Linked DNA regions of Homo sapiens: all the other regions are linked to region 1. The links are contacts of gene promoters, found by promoter capture Hi-C in blood cells and fetal thymus (Javierre and others, 2016). All regions are on one chromosome and are shown on one strand. The core of a region is centred on a gene start or on the middle of the fragment in contact, and the rest is flanking DNA. Distances in the headings are between cores, read along the strand shown. Region 1 holds the start of KRT74 (keratin 74). Region 2 has its middle 4.8 kb from the start of KRT76. Region 3 has its middle 5.4 kb from the start of KRT4. Region 4 has its middle 3.9 kb from the start of KRT3.

Region 1 (3,923 bases), core at 912-3,411:
CTCAGGTCACACAGCAAGGTTGAGCTGGACCCGAGTTTCACAGTTCCCAGACCAGAATTCTGTCTGTCTCTGTCCATTTCCTGAGTGTGTGTCTTTCCTCTCCAACTCACTGGAGGCCAGGACTATGACTCCACCCTCACCAGGCACCAGCCCCCTCACCAGGCACCAGCCCCCTCCCCAGCCTCCTGGGCTGAAGTCCTGAGCAGAGTTGTTAAGATGGGGGTGCGAGAGACCCTAATAAGGAGGCTCCTCCCTCTCTTACCTTCTTAAGCACCACAAACTCATTCTCTGCTGTCGTGCGCCGGTTAATCTCCACTTCATATCTGCCAGCAGGGAGAGTAGATGGCCTTAGCCCCCTTAGCCAAGGAACTTTCTCTTCCTGCTGGCCAGGCAAATGTTTGGGATACAGGGTCCCTGCAGGGTCTCTGGGGTGAGCAGTAAGAGGCTAGTGACAGGAGTAAGATATCCCTGAGTTGCTTCACTTGTCTCCTAGTTTTTGCATGTTAGGAAAACACCCAGGTGCCTATTGGGCTCCCGACACCAGCAACTGAACATTTCAGTGGGTCAAGGAGCACAGGAACCGCTTCCTATCAACTAGGCAGGAAGTTATCATCAAAGAGGATAGGCCCTTCCCCCTAGCCAGAGAAAGGGATGTGAGCTCCTGACCCTGGTGCATACTCCCCCATCTCCTAAAAAATAATGGCACAGAGATCAGGTGAGCCCAGAGGCACGGGAAACATGGTCTGTGACCCTCGGGTGGAGCCTGCTCACCTCTTCTTATAGTCCTCCACCAGATCCCTCATGCTTCTCAGCTCCGAGTCCAGCCTCACCCTGTCCCCAGACAGTGTCTCCAGCTGCTTCCGCAGGTTGCTGATGTAGCCCTCAAGGATGGGCTCCAGGTTCTTCTTGCAGTTGTTCAGGTCCAGCTGCTGCAGCAGCTCCCACTTGGTTTCTAGAACCTGGTTCTGCTGCTCTAGGAAGCGTACCTGGAACCCAAATCAACAGACACCTGGAACCACAATGGGTGCAGTCATGCCCCCTGGACACACACCATTGACTCCCCAGGTTTGCCATAGATTGTTGTAGTCATTTTTGCTCATGTCTTGACTCTCCACCCTTGCCATTCCACACAAACTAGATCCTTTACAAGTGCTCATTTCCTAGCCTTCTGGACAAGGCATCACTGAGAACTCACTCAAGGAGTTTCCACAGCTTTCTTCTATTGCTCGGCCCTGGTCCCAGGAGATGTCCTTCCTTATGTCTCAACTAAGTGTCTCTTCCTGTACCATGAGCCCTTCCCTCTGAACACTGCTGGATTCTATTAGCCTTTCATGTTCTTGGAAGATCCAGCTGTCCTCAAGAAACTCATCACTTTTTTGTCAAGGAAGGGCTGCTCTTTACCCAGCTTCCCATCCTTCCCTGCAAAATCGCCAAAGAAGCCGATATATTCATGTATTCCTTTGTCCTCCGTGGCTCACAGACCTACTCTCCTTCCCTAATGGTGAGGAAGCCCTTCCTGAGGCCCAGCTGCACCTTTCCAGCCACAGTGTGCAGTCCATTCCCAGGCAGCAGGAAAACTGCTCAGGCCTCAGGGTGCGGCCTCATCCTCCTCCTATGAGACCCACCTTGTCAATGAAGGAGGCGAACTTGTCGTTCAGCACCTTGATCTGTTCCCGCTCCTGGGCGCGCACCTTCTGGATCTCAGGGTCCAGCTCCACGTTGAGGGGGGCCAAGAGGCTCTTGTTGACAGTGACCTGGTGGATGCCCCCAGGTGGGCACACAGACAAACATGCAGGCCCCAGGGCCACACTGCCAAACATACTGCCAGCAAAGCCACTGGCCCGGCCCCCTCCATACCCAGAGCCAGGCCTGAAGCCGTAACCTCCAGCCCGAACGCCGCCACCAGCCACATTGAAAGAAATACGCCGATTCCCTCCAAGGCTATAGAGGCTCCGACTGCCAAAGCCAGCGCCAGCCCCTCTGCCAGCTGCACAGTAAGAAGCCAGGCTACCCACAGCCTTCCTTGGCACCACTGCCGAATGCACACTGAAGTTGCCCTTGTCACCACTGGACTTGATGTTCAGTTGCCGACTCATGGTGGGAAAGGTTGAGTTGACAGAGCTGGAGAAAAGCAGTCTCCAAGGGGTAGAGAACACACTGATGGGGCACCCAGAGTGCTGCCTCCTTTTATCCCTGTTGAGCCCAGGACACCGGAAAAGGGCGTCTCTCCACTATCTCCTTTCCCCTGCTGATGGGCCAGGGGCCATGGGCAATTTGTAGAACAGAGATCTCCAAGCCCTTTGCAGCAACAAAGCTCTTCTGATAGCAAGTGGAATATGCTGCCCTTGCAGAGTGGAGTGGTCTAATTTGGAGTTTATCTGTGCTCCCTAATTAAGGACCTGAAGAGTTATCCCCTGAAGAGATCTCCTAGCTTTATTTTTCCAGTGCTACCTCCTTCTTGCTTAACCATCAGCAAGGAGCAGGGGAAATGCCTGGCTTTCCCCAGAGTAGACTCACCTGAAAAACCCCAGGTTTCTTCCCAAAAGAAACCATCTCTCTATTATAGGGTCTTGTGTGGAAGCTGGAATTTTTACCTCAGGGAAAAGAAGACATGGAAAGATGATTCTTCTTGGAAAGATGTCCTCAAAGATCTGGATCTGGGTAAGAAGCTCCAGGGTCCGTCCTTGGGCCATGCTAAGGACCACAGCTGTCTAGCAGTGAAGTGGACCCCAGGAAGGAAGAGGAATGACTCTGCAGCATCTGCATGCCCCCCTAGCAGGGATATTGTCTAGGGCCTTCTGTGTTGGGCAGGGCCTGGGTGGTGGTGACCTTGACATTGCCTTACAACCATGAGAACCTTTCCAGTCAGCTGCATTTCCTCCAGTTGGATTTTCTCTCCTGGATAAGATTATTTGTCCTACTCTAGGAAGTCAGGCAGGAGCTGGGATATTAGCCCCTGCACTCCCTGGGGAAACACCCTATGGCTGAAGTCACCAAGGAACAGGACCCCCTGAGTTTCACTCCCAGGTTCAGGGTGGGCTGTTCTGCCAGTTTCCTGGCAACTTCAGGGAGCACTCAATTTTCAAACAGGAAGTATCACTGCTTTATAGCTCAGGTAGTGTGGGTACAGTGCAATGTTAAAAAATTATTTCAGGGCTGGGCATGGTGGCTCACACCTGTAATCCCAGCACTTTGGGAGGCCAAGGAGGGCAGATTGCCTGAGGTCAGGAGTTTGAGTCCAGCCTGGCTAACATGGTGAAACCCCGCCTCTACTAAAAATACAAAAATCAGCCGAGCGCAGTGGTGCATGCCTGTAGTCGCAGCTACTCAAAAGACTGAAGTAGAAGAATCACTTGAACCTGGGAGGCAGAGGTTGCAGTGAGCCTAGATTGTGCCACTGCACTCCAGCCTGGGCAACAGAGCAAGACTCTGTCTCCAAAAAACAAAAAAAATTATTTCAAAGCTAGGTATCTGGCAGCTGCCCTCATGCAAGACTCTGACCACTTCCTATAACTAAACTGAGAACACTTGGCTTGTTTGGATCCAGCCGAGGGCAGAAGACAACTGCTCCCACTGCTGGGGAGGGAAAAGGAGAAGCTGACCTGGGCAGGGAGCGTGGAGCTTAGGCCTGGAAGCTGCCCCGGAAGAATTTCCCCTTCACAGGGTGTTTTCCTCTCAGCCCCTGAGGTAACGGTGGAAGGTCCTTCCCCAGGGACCCTGTCTCGGGGGGCTTTCCCGGCAGGGCCTAGCCCTACAGCACAGGAGCATGTAATCGAAGGGGTTGCTTGTGGTTTTCTAAGTCAGGTTGCAAGGGCAGCAGCAGGGGTGCCGCCAGATGCTGGGTTTGCCGCCCTCCTGTGCTGGAGTGTGCAAGACAAAAAATGGCGTGAGTTCCTTAACCTGGGGGTGACTGTCCTAGGGCC
Region 2 (3,552 bases), core at 80-2,579, 210 kb after region 1:
ATCTAAAGGGTCTGCCTACTGCCAGCAATCTGAGTTCCAATCCCTCACTGCCAGAACATTCTGTGTAAAGCTTGCCAGATGGCTGAGCACCCTGGATTTTTATTTCCCCACCTATAAAATTGGGGGCACTAAAACCAAGGAGTTATTCCCTCTAACCAAATTGCTCTCTGGTAGTCAACTGCAGTGAGAAGACTTCAGATTGCCTGTAACATAATTATGAGTGGAGGAATGCATCATGAGACAGTAGTCATTATCCTTGGCCAAAGTGAGCAGTCATCCCTCTCCACCACCATCTGCTGAGGATGAGGGAGCCATGGCTGCTGCCTCTTTCTCCATGGAGGTTCGCAGATCCCATTTTCAAGATAATCACCAATTTGTTCTCAAAAATAAAAAAAGAATAATTAACGTTCTGGGTATGCTGCCCCTGGACTAGGAATTAGCATTCTTTTCTTGTTGAAATAAAAGCTTGTCACTAGTGAAGCAATTTTAACCAATGAACAGTAAAAATAATTACCATATAGAGCAAGATTTATAGTGAAAGCTTGATAAAGAAGCAAACATCTAAGTACAACTAAGTCCTTATGTTACTAAGGTCTTAGCTGTTAGCAACCACAATTTGTTCTGATTCTGGTCTTATCTCTACACTTGATTAAAATACACACCAGCTCACCCCTCATTCTTTATCTGGTACTTGGATCTCTCCCAGGGCTTATGCAGGGCAGAATTCTATCTCCCAAGATGGCCCTGATTAAAAGGTTCTGTGATTACATAAATTTGGGAAATGAAAAATCTATAGCTCTTTCCTGGGATTTTAGTAAAGTTGTTTAGTATATTAAAAGCCCAAAGAAGTCCTATAGAAAATAATGTCTTTGCCTTAATTTAATCACAGCTTCCCAAATTTAACAACAAAATCTTTCTATCTTAACATCTACTAACATGCTGTCAAGTATACTCGGGAAACGCTAGTCCAACTAGCCATCCAGGATGGATGAGAATGTGCAGATAGACCAGTGCAGATAGACCAATCAGAGGATTAGGGCATAAGGAGACATCCTCATTCCTGGAGAAAGAGCACTTGCTCCAAGTGAGCTCCTCATCCCTGGAGAGAAAGCACTTGCTCCAAGTGAGATAGCAGGAAACTGAGAGCAGACTAAGGCCTGGGGTTGAAGATGCAGCAAGAAGGGCACTGGGACGCCGAAAACTGAACAGGTTCTCTAAAGACAAGCTCTCCTGTCAATGAATATTTCTCACCAATAAATGGATTTGGCTGAATATTTCCAAAAACCGTGGATATTTCATGGGCATGCTGGATTTTCTGGAACTCAAATAACTTCATCTCCTCCTCTCTTCCCTTGCAGCTTGAAAGAGTGGAAAATATGGAAGCCTTGGAATTAGACGAGCCTGTGTTCAGATCCCAGCCTTGCCACTTTCCAGTTGCATGGCATCAGGCAAGACATTTTACCCTCTGGACCTCAGTTTCCCATTCAGCAAATGGGAGTTAGCACAGCCTCCTCATAGAGTTGCAGTGGGGACTGTAGGAGGTAAAGTTGGAAAACCCTTACACAAAGCAGGTGCTCAACACTTGGCAGCCCTTGTGATGATGATGTCAATGTAGGAAGCCCTCCTAGAAGGTGTCAGTTTGGAAGCTGAAGAGGAAGGAGGAGTTCTAAGGGGTAGCCCAGTTTAGGGTCAAGGCAACAGTGAAGTCTTTGATTATTTTGCAACAAGTTGCAAAGAATCATACTGTCTGTATTGAGAATTACATAAAAGCCATTTTCCCATGTCTGGCCAAGCCATTTTCCCACTACAGGGCCTCGTCAGTAATGCAATCTATCAATCAGCAAATACTTATTGATCTACTACATACTTTTTAGAGGTGTGGGGACTATGTTTCAGTGAAAACAATTTCCTCTTTCAAATCTTAACTCCTATTGCCCATCTGTGAATAGAATTTTAAAACAGCTAACATTGACTGCCTAACATATACAAGTCACTGACAGGTTGTTTACATGTGTCATTTCTAATTGTCACAAAAACTTTGTAAGGTAGGAATTTTCATTCACATTTTACAGATAAGGGCATGAGGTTAATTAACTTGCCTCAAGTCAATTCACTTGCAAGCTTGGATTTTAATCAGACTGTCCAATCCCAAAGCCTGTCGTAAATTCGTGAATGCTTTTCTTCTGCATAGACTTTCAGCAAGTCAAATTACACCATCCCAAAGTGAAAAGTCCACTTTGACATGTAAAGAACCCACCAATATTCTCTCCACCTGACCACCACATGATAGGTTGGACACCAGCCATGTGCAACCTACCATGCTAGCCAGGGCCACCAAGGCACTGGTCAGGACAGTCTCTCAGGGACAGAACACATGGGTGTGCATGGAATTTATAGATGACAAGAGCCGCTCCATCATCTGCAATGTAAAAGGTCTTCACCCTGTTGGAGAAAGAGCAAGAGGCCAGGAGTTTGCGCTGAGCTTAGCTGCTTGCTGGGTCTTAGATGTTGGAGTTGACCACTTGGCCCACAGGAATGATTAGCCACAATCTTCTCTTTCACTTTTTTTTTTTTTTTTTTTTTTTGAGACGGAGTCTCACTCTGTTGCTCAGGCTGGAGTGCAGTGGCACAATCAAGGCTCACTGCAACCTCTGCCTCCCAGGTTCAGGAGATTCTCCTGCCTCAGCCTCCCGAGTAGCTGGGATTACAGGCGCCTGCCACCACACCCAGCTAATTTTTGAATGTTTAGTAGAGACGGGGTTTCACCATGTTGGTCAGGCTGGTCTTGAACTCCTGACCTCAGGTGCTCCACTCGCTTCGGCCTCCCAAAGTACTGGGATTACAGGCATGAGCCACCGTATTTTGTTTTTGCTCACCAAACAGGTAATCAAGATGCACCTTTAAATAATACATTTGTGTTGCATGTTAAAAAAAAAAAAAAAAAAAAAAAAACCCCAACCTTAGAAGGTAATGGTCAGATCTGCCTTGAAGCATCAACTTGTGTTGATGAAAATAGTTTTAAACTTTGTGAATTCCATTGTGGCATCAAGGAGGAACACCCATCATTATCAAGGTATTCTCCCAATCAATCTCAATGGCTTCTCTGTCTGGAGATCAGAACTCCCCAGAGTTAAACGTGGGCCTGCTCACCATCACAGAGCCTTAGCTGTAGAAATCTCGTCTGCTAATGTAGGAACTTCAGGTTTGGTTTCTGGCTCAAAACTATGGAAAGTCGTTAGTCCACATACAAGGGAGGACATCCTAGAATCCAAGAAGACACCAGCCGGCCCCATTCAGCAGCATAGCACAGTAGTTGCATGTGTACACTTTGGATTTGAGGCCAGATCTGCCACTTCCCATCAGTCATGTTACTCTGCTTCTCCAAGCCAGTGTCCTCATCTAGAAAATGAGGATAATTGCCGCCTGCCTCTTATGGCAGTTGCAAAGGATGAAATGAGATGACATATGCAAAATGCCCAGAATATGACTTGCACTAGTCACAAAAGTTAGTTGTTTAATCCAGTTGTTTTTGTTAAATATGTCAGGGCAGTA
Region 3 (3,398 bases), core at 311-2,810, 250 kb after region 1:
CACACAGCCAGGAAGTGGTAGAGATAGGAAGTCAGTACTATCTGTCTGACTTCAAAGCTTGTGACCTTACAATGTATAAAACGGTAGGTATAATGTTTTATATGAGTGACTGGCCCACACAGAATATGCAGGGAAAAAAATACACAGCAACTTATACAGCCCTGTACCTCATGGTCCACCAAGACAGCCATGGGGTCTGGCCAGCAGGCTGCAAGCTCTGCAGATGCAGCTCCGCTCCTTTTTGTCCTTACCCTCAGCACATGGTCAGTTGCTTGGTTGATGTGGCCCTGTCCTTACAAGTACCCAATAAGGTATGACACTGTCCTGAGGGGCCAGTTTTGTATCCTCCAATTAACTAAATCCAAATTAATTTCATGACAAACCCTACCATAAACCCAATCCAAACAAGAAGAAAGTTCTAGTCTAGAGCCACATTCTGTGTCCTTATTATTAAATCAGAATTGCAAGAAGCTCACAAAATCTTCAAACTGAGCCTGAGAAACCGAAGGTAGACCTAAGGAAGAACTTCCTATGCAAGAGCGCCTTTACACCCTAGAGTGAGAGAGAAAGAGAGATGAGTTTCTTTCCCTGAAAACGGGGAAAGACATTGCCTTCATATGTGGGCCAGAGGCAGGTGGCTGAACAAGGCGCCACTACCCAGCAGCCACAGCTGGAAGCTTGTCCCCTGCCCCTCCCCAGACCTCCACACGCAGATTCTGCTACTGCCCTCGGTGACCCTTCCTTGTTTGGCAGCTGTTCCCAATCTTTTCACAGAGGGATGAGCAGCCGACAGGGGTGTGGAGCCAGGCGGAGGGAGTGTTTGCTCAGGGCTTTCTGGGTAAGGGAGGCAAGCCCTTACATTCAGCCCTGGGATTAAGGGATCCTGAGGGCTTCTGTCACTCTCATCTCCAAACCCACTGTGTGGTGTGGGAAAGTGCTCCTGCCCTCCCTGGCCAGGCGGGCACCCTCACTCCATTCGGTCACCCAACCTCAACTGCCCCACCGGGCCTGAGTCATTCTTGGGGAACCAGAGACAACACGGGGATCAGAGATTCTGCAGAAAAGGGCCATCAGCGTTTTAGGGAGAGGCCAGTGAGGGCAATGAGAGGACGGGCACTCCTGAGAGCCAGGTATGGGGGTCTGTACCCAGGGGCTCCTCTTTCCCCGGGCCGGAGAGCTGCCCCTGCTGGCCTCCTACCCCAGGCATATACAGGCAGGGGCTTCCCAGCATGTTCTGGCAGCAAAAGCACCCTCATAAACAAAATCACGTGCACAGCCTCATGAGTAAAACAGATAAGGAGAGATGATCCAGTTGGTGCAGAGGAGGGACCATGATCCTTCTCACCTGCTGACCTCCCCCTGCACCCCTGAAAGCAGCCCTTAGGGTCCTCAGTTTGGAAACCCCTGGGTCTGGGCCATTCCCCTCCTTCGACAAGTATGTCTAAGCAGCGCATTATTGTTGGTGGGCCCCCCTGGGCTGCAGTATAATCTCTGAGGCTTTTTTCCATGACAATCAAAAGTTTCTATTGTTCAGTTTTTGAGCCCTAAATATAATTTTTTTGAGACAGGGTCTCCCTCTGTCACCCAGGCTGGAGTGCAATGGTGCAATCACAGCTCACCGCAGCCTCAACAGCCTCAAGTGATCCTCCCACCTCAGCCTCCCAAGTAGCTGGGACTACAGGTATGCATTATCAAACCCAGCTAATTTTTGTATTTTTTTGTAGAGGCAGAGTCTCACCATGTTGCCAGGCTTGTCTTGAACTCCTGGGCTCAAGTGATCCACCTGCCTCAGCCTCCCAAAGTGCTGGAATTACAGGCAGGAGCCACAACACCTGGCCTATGATCTCACTAAAACTGATTTTTTTTTTAACACTGCCACTAAGTTACCGTGGCTTTGGATACATTCTTCCCCTTCCTCAACCTGTTTTCTTATCTATGAAATAAAAAGTTTGGAGTCGATTACATCCAATGCCCCTTCTAGCTCCAGCATCCCCAGGTCTCCATTCCTTTTTCTATATAAGCAAAATAACCTGGTGCTTAAGAGCTTGGGCTATGGAACCAGATTGCTTGGATTCCACACCTAGCTCTGCTACTTCCTAGCTGTGTGACCTTAGGCAAGTTACTTAACCACTCTGTGCCTTATTTTCCTTATAGGCAAAATTAGAATGATAATAGTATTTATATTATAGGCTGTTGTGAAGAGAATCAGTTAAAGGCTTGACAGCAGTTCTGGCACACAGTTGGCACTCAGTGAGCATTAGCAAGTATTCCTCAAAGTGTTGTACATGGGGTGGACTATACTCCATCTGTCTGAGAAGGGAAGCTAGAGACCACCCAAGCTGGTGAGGCAGAGCTGACCCTAAACCGCTAGGCCTTTGTGTTCCTAAGCTGGAGGTTAGGGTTTGGCTGAAAATCCCTCTGCTGGCCTTCCACAGCCCTGGAGGAAGCTTTCTCAGGGCTCTTCGGGGCTCCTCTGAGGAGGACAGAGTGATCAGGCCGGAAGAGTGTGGGATGCATCCCAGCAACTGCCAGGAGCCCTAAGGTTGCCAAGGAAGGGAGCGGAGTGGTGACAGCCTCGGGTCGGGCCAACTGGTTTGGTAGCAGGGTGGGGAGGGCCTGAGAGGTGCAGGGTTGAGAGGCCAGCCAATTGGGGAATCACTTGGGTACAGCTTGAGGAGTGGGGTCCAGACTCAAAGTAGAGAACTGTGGAGATGAAGAGGAAAGAAGGTGATACCAAGAGACGCATGGAGGGAGGAGCAGTAAGATTTGGCGAGTGATGGAGGCAGGAGTAGGACGGAGGTAGCTTCTGGGGTGACAGGACAGAGGGCTTGAAATTGCAGCCCTGGACACTACTGACCCACCTCCAGCCAGCTGGATGACTACAGCATGAGAGGTCACTTCTGTGAGCGTGAATCGCCTCACCTGTAAACTGGAACACCACATGCCCACTACTGAACCTAGGGCTGTGGTGATGGTCACAGGCAAAGTAATGTATGTGTAAACCACAAAACCCAATTAAGTGTGGATTTTTCTTGCCGACTGGATGTGGGGGCTGAGAGAGACATCACTGAGGCCAAGAGGATAAGCTGGGAATCCAGAAGTCAGGGAGTGGGAAAGCAAAGAAACCTGATTCCTGAAAGGGCCTCTATAAGCCAGATGCTTTACACATGTTCTTATCACAACCCACTTTTACAAAGGAGGAAACTAAGGCTCAGAGAGGTTAGGTAACTTGACCGAGGTCATACAGCTAGTAAGTGGCAGAACTTGGATTTAAACCCAAGTTGCCTAGTTCTGAAGCCTAAGACCTCTCCACTGAACAAAGCATGCTGTCTGCCCCTACAGAGTTAGTGGGAGGCTGAACAGGCACCAGGGGTGGCTGGTTAATAGGCAGCCACTTA
Region 4 (3,786 bases), core at 296-2,795, 230 kb after region 1:
GTGAAGTTAGCCCAGGCCTAGAGTGTGGCCACACAGGCTCCTCTCCTCTTTGCTCCCTCAAAGGCAATGAACCAAACCCAGGGCTAGACCAGATCCTCCCCATGACTAAGCATGACCAAAGCTATTTAAATTCTCTGCATTTCAGCATCATTAACCATAAAAGATGATCAATCATCTCTGACCCTCTAGATCTCACAGGAACATAGCTAGATGAATGAAATATCTGCCAGTGTTTTAAGAAACATATCACAAGGCCAAATGTGGTGGCTCACGCCTGTAACCCCAATACTTTGCAAGGCTGAGGTGGGCAGATTGCTTGAGCCCAGGAGTTTCAGACCAGCCTTGGAAACATGGCAAAACACCATCTCTATGAAAAAAATACAAAGATTAGCCGGGTGTGGTGTCATGTGCCTGTAGACCCAGGTGCTTGGGAGGCTAAGGTCGGAGGATCACTTGATCCTGGGAGGTCAAGGCTGCACTGAGCTATGATTGCACCATGGCACTCCAGCCTGGACAACAGAACAAGACCCTTCTCAACAAAAGAAAAAGAAAAAAGGAAACATATCACAAAAATTAGACCATATTTTTCCTTATAATATCTAAGAGAGCAGGATGGAGGACCTGCCTTTATGCCAGACAGAAATGAGGCTGCTGCTTGGTCTGGTGTGGGGTCTAGAGTCCAGGGCAATGAGTCTCTAGGAATTCCTAAACCCATAGTGATTCAGGGTACTTAGTGCCCCAATGGGGGGAGATCTTAGTCATTGCCAGAGCCCACTGATTCTGAGCCATGCTTGTCATTCCTTTAGAGGGAATTATCTTGGAGAAGAATCTTTGAGAAGCAACATCACAACCACTGCTGTCATCAGCTAGTCCTGGGTCGGGGACCTCCCCAGCAGATGGTGGAAGAAAAAGGAAGAAGGGCATAATCTATACTTACTCTTGGGGTTGGGATAGCAGAGAAGACATGGCTTGACCTTTGAGAGGACAGGGAGCAAAACAAAGATTGGGGAATACATTCGTGGGACTAGATTGTCAATTCTGATCAGAGCTGTGAGTGAAGGAAGTGGTGGAAGGGGAGGAGATAATCAGTGAGTTGAAATTCTTATTGGTTGGGCCCATCCCTCTAAACTTGTAGGGCCTAATAAACACTTTGAGAAAACAGAGTTGGTTTACAGTCATCCCCAACACTTGAATTATCTGAAGTTTATTAACTAAGCGCCCTAAGTGTTTACTCCCTGGAGAAAAGAGTGAGTCACTGGATTGCAATGTGTAAAATCGAGACTCATAGGGTGCTACGGCCAGGAGGCTCTCCAGTCCACTCCTCTACCTCGAGGCAGAATTCACCTGGCCACTCCTACTCTTCAGGATCCCCATGGAAGGCGATTCATCAAATCTCCTAACTTGCCCAGGCCAGCAAGACCCCACCCTGACCCAAGGAAGGTCTTCAAGGATCTAGCTTTCGTGCCTTCCACTCCATTTCATGGGAGCCTAACTCCTCTTAAAGGATCAGTGAAGTTGTGGTCAGCAGCAGGAGGCCCAGTCACCTGTCCGTCATGGCATGGCACCCATACCTCTCTGCTTGTGAAGGCCCCTTTTAACACACAAAAAATTACATTGACCTTCACACATGTCAGAACTCATACTTCCAGTATCCTTTGAGAATATACATTTTTTACTATGAATTTAGCAACACTTTTAAATAAAAGTGCAGTTCATAGTCATATACATTTGAAAGTGGTAATACATATACATAAAAAGACACATTATTCACTCAGTCGAGAGACACTTGCATCCATGTGCATTCTCAGAATCCTTGCAGTCCTGACACAACAGCAACCCTAACTGGGGCCTCTCAGCCTCAGGTCTCAAGGTCCTGCCCCTTCCACGGCTGGACACCTGCCCCCAGCTGAGATTCCCCACTGAGCACTGTTACCACCTGTCTTCCCTGCCTTTGTGTCCATCAGCCTGTGGCCCTGGCAGGCCTTCAGCAGATGGGAACTGAGTTGCGATGAATTTGCTCTTGCCTGGCCTTCCATAGTAAAACACACACACTCCCCTGGTTTCTGTATCACAACCCTTCCAATATTAGAAAATACTGTGGAATTCACAGACACCAACCTCCCAGTTAGATAGACCCAGTTGTTTCTCCCAGTCCTCAGTACAGATGGTTTCCGGGAATCTTCTCTGCACCCACTTTAATATGTTAATGGACCTCTTAAAACTACAGTGCCTTGCTAAGATAGGATACTTAAGGTGGCTTCATGTGCACCAGAACTAATAAGAAGCCCCTTCCTGTCTGTGATGGGGGCACTGTGCTTCTTTCAATGCAAGCTAAGATTCTGTTCCCTTCTTTAGCTCTTGACTTCCATCAATCCTGCCTGGGGAGGAGGAATGGTAAGGCATGGGTTTGTTGGTGGTGGGGGCAGGGGGTTGTTTTTGTTTTTTTGTTTTTGTTTTGAGAGAGAGAGAGAGAGCCCCTCACTCTGTTGCTGAGGCTGGAGTGCAGTGGTGCAATCTCAGCTCACTGCAACCTCAACCTCCCAGGCTCAAGCCATCCTCCCACCTCAGCCTCCCAAGTAGCTGGGACACTGGCATGCACCACCATGCCCAGCTAACACTTTTTTTATTTTTTTTGTAGAGACAGAGTCTCTCTATGTAACCCAGGTTGGTCTTGAACTCCTAGGCTCAAGCAATCCGCCCACTTCAGCCTCCCAAAGTGCTGGGATTATAAACATGGGCCACCATGCCAGCCAGCTTCCTAGTTTTAAATAACTCACTTCCTTGTCCTGCTGTAAGAATAAACTGAAGGGACAGCATTCACAAAGCACTTACAGAGAAAATAAACATAACAGTAAAAATGAAAAAAAAAAAAGGTTTGCCCTGAATAAGCCTCTATTTACATAAGATTCCTCTGCATGGATAAGAGCTGTCCATTTATATTTGTGCTGAATCATGTCTGGCTGGCATGCCTGCTCAAACCAGAGGCTTGTACACAGCAGAAATCACAACCTTGTCCTCGCTGGAGAATTCCCAAGAGATCTTAGGAAGTTATTAAACAGTTGTCTTCAAACAAAAGATAGGCCGGGCGTGGTGGCTCAGGCCTGTAATCCCAGGACTTTGGGAGGCCGAGGCGGGCGGATCACGAGGTCAGGAGACTGAGACCATTCTGGCTAACACGATGAAACCCCATCTCCACTAAAAATACAAAAAATTAGCCAGGAGTGGTGGCGGGCACCTGTAGTCCCAGCTACTCCAGAGGCTGAGGCAGGAGAATGGCTGAATCCAGGAGGCAGAGATGGCAGTGAGCCGAGATTGCGCCACTGCACTCCAGTCTGGGTGACAGTGCGAGAGTCTGTCTCCAAAAAAAAAAAAAAAAAGATAGAAGGGGAGGTGAAAAAAGTCATTAAGTGGTCATTTAACCTGGGAAAGGCATTTAAGAGGAAAAATACATTTATTTCTCAATGCAATGATTTGAAAAGCATGGATCTCTCTCCACTGAGGAATTTGAGGGGATCCAGTTAGACATAAAGCAAAGGGTACAATCATGGTGAAAATAAGGGGACCAGGGGACACTGTAAGTAACCCAAGGGGATTTTTAAAATAGCAATTTATAGCCCCTAGCATATGAAAGATGCTCAATAAATATCAAAGGAATGGATGCCAGCGTGTGGGGTGAGAGACAATTCTGCCAAGAGACAAAGGAATGACAGCAAACCTCTTCATTCCTGGAAACATACCCTCATAGGAAACAAGAGTGGGAAAGGAGGCATGGCCATGGCAAGGCTT

The links. Contacts are between HindIII fragments. The CHiCAGO score rates a contact against its expected background, and 5 or more counts as called.
Region 2: a contact is called between a fragment that was not itself captured here and the fragment with the promoter of KRT74 in region 1, in 1 of 17 cell types (non-activated CD4 T cells). The highest score is 5.0, in non-activated CD4 T cells.
Region 3: a contact is called between a fragment that was not itself captured here and the fragment with the promoter of KRT74 in region 1, in 2 of 17 cell types (erythroblasts and activated CD4 T cells). The highest score is 7.2, in erythroblasts.
Region 4: a fragment that was not itself captured here is called in contact with the fragment with the promoter of KRT74 in region 1 in 3 of 17 cell types (naive CD4 T cells, naive CD8 T cells and total CD8 T cells); the score reaches 6.7 in naive CD4 T cells.

Annotation. Positions count from the first base shown.
Region 1 is chr12:52,571,682-52,575,604 of GRCh38, forward strand. It overlaps KRT74 (keratin 74), which reads right to left and starts at 2,162. Exons shown (of 9, transcript NM_175053.4): 1 at 1,626-2,162; 2 at 772-986; 3 at 263-323. The coding sequence starts at 2,096. RefSeq lists an enhancer at 587-756. The HindIII fragment of the contact is 6,698 bases long and covers 1-3,923 here.
Region 2 is chr12:52,780,359-52,783,910 of GRCh38, forward strand. No RefSeq gene overlaps it. Among named protein-coding and RNA genes, the nearest start is that of KRT76, 4.8 kb to the left of the region's middle. The HindIII fragment of the contact is 1,580 bases long and covers 540-2,119 here.
Region 3 is chr12:52,817,819-52,821,216 of GRCh38, forward strand. No RefSeq gene overlaps it. Among named protein-coding and RNA genes, the nearest start is that of KRT4, 5.4 kb to the left of the region's middle. RefSeq lists an enhancer at 401-902. The HindIII fragment of the contact is 1,770 bases long and covers 676-2,445 here.
Region 4 is chr12:52,798,081-52,801,866 of GRCh38, forward strand. No RefSeq gene overlaps it. Among named protein-coding and RNA genes, the nearest start is that of KRT3, 3.9 kb to the left of the region's middle. The HindIII fragment of the contact is 5,805 bases long and covers 1-3,786 here.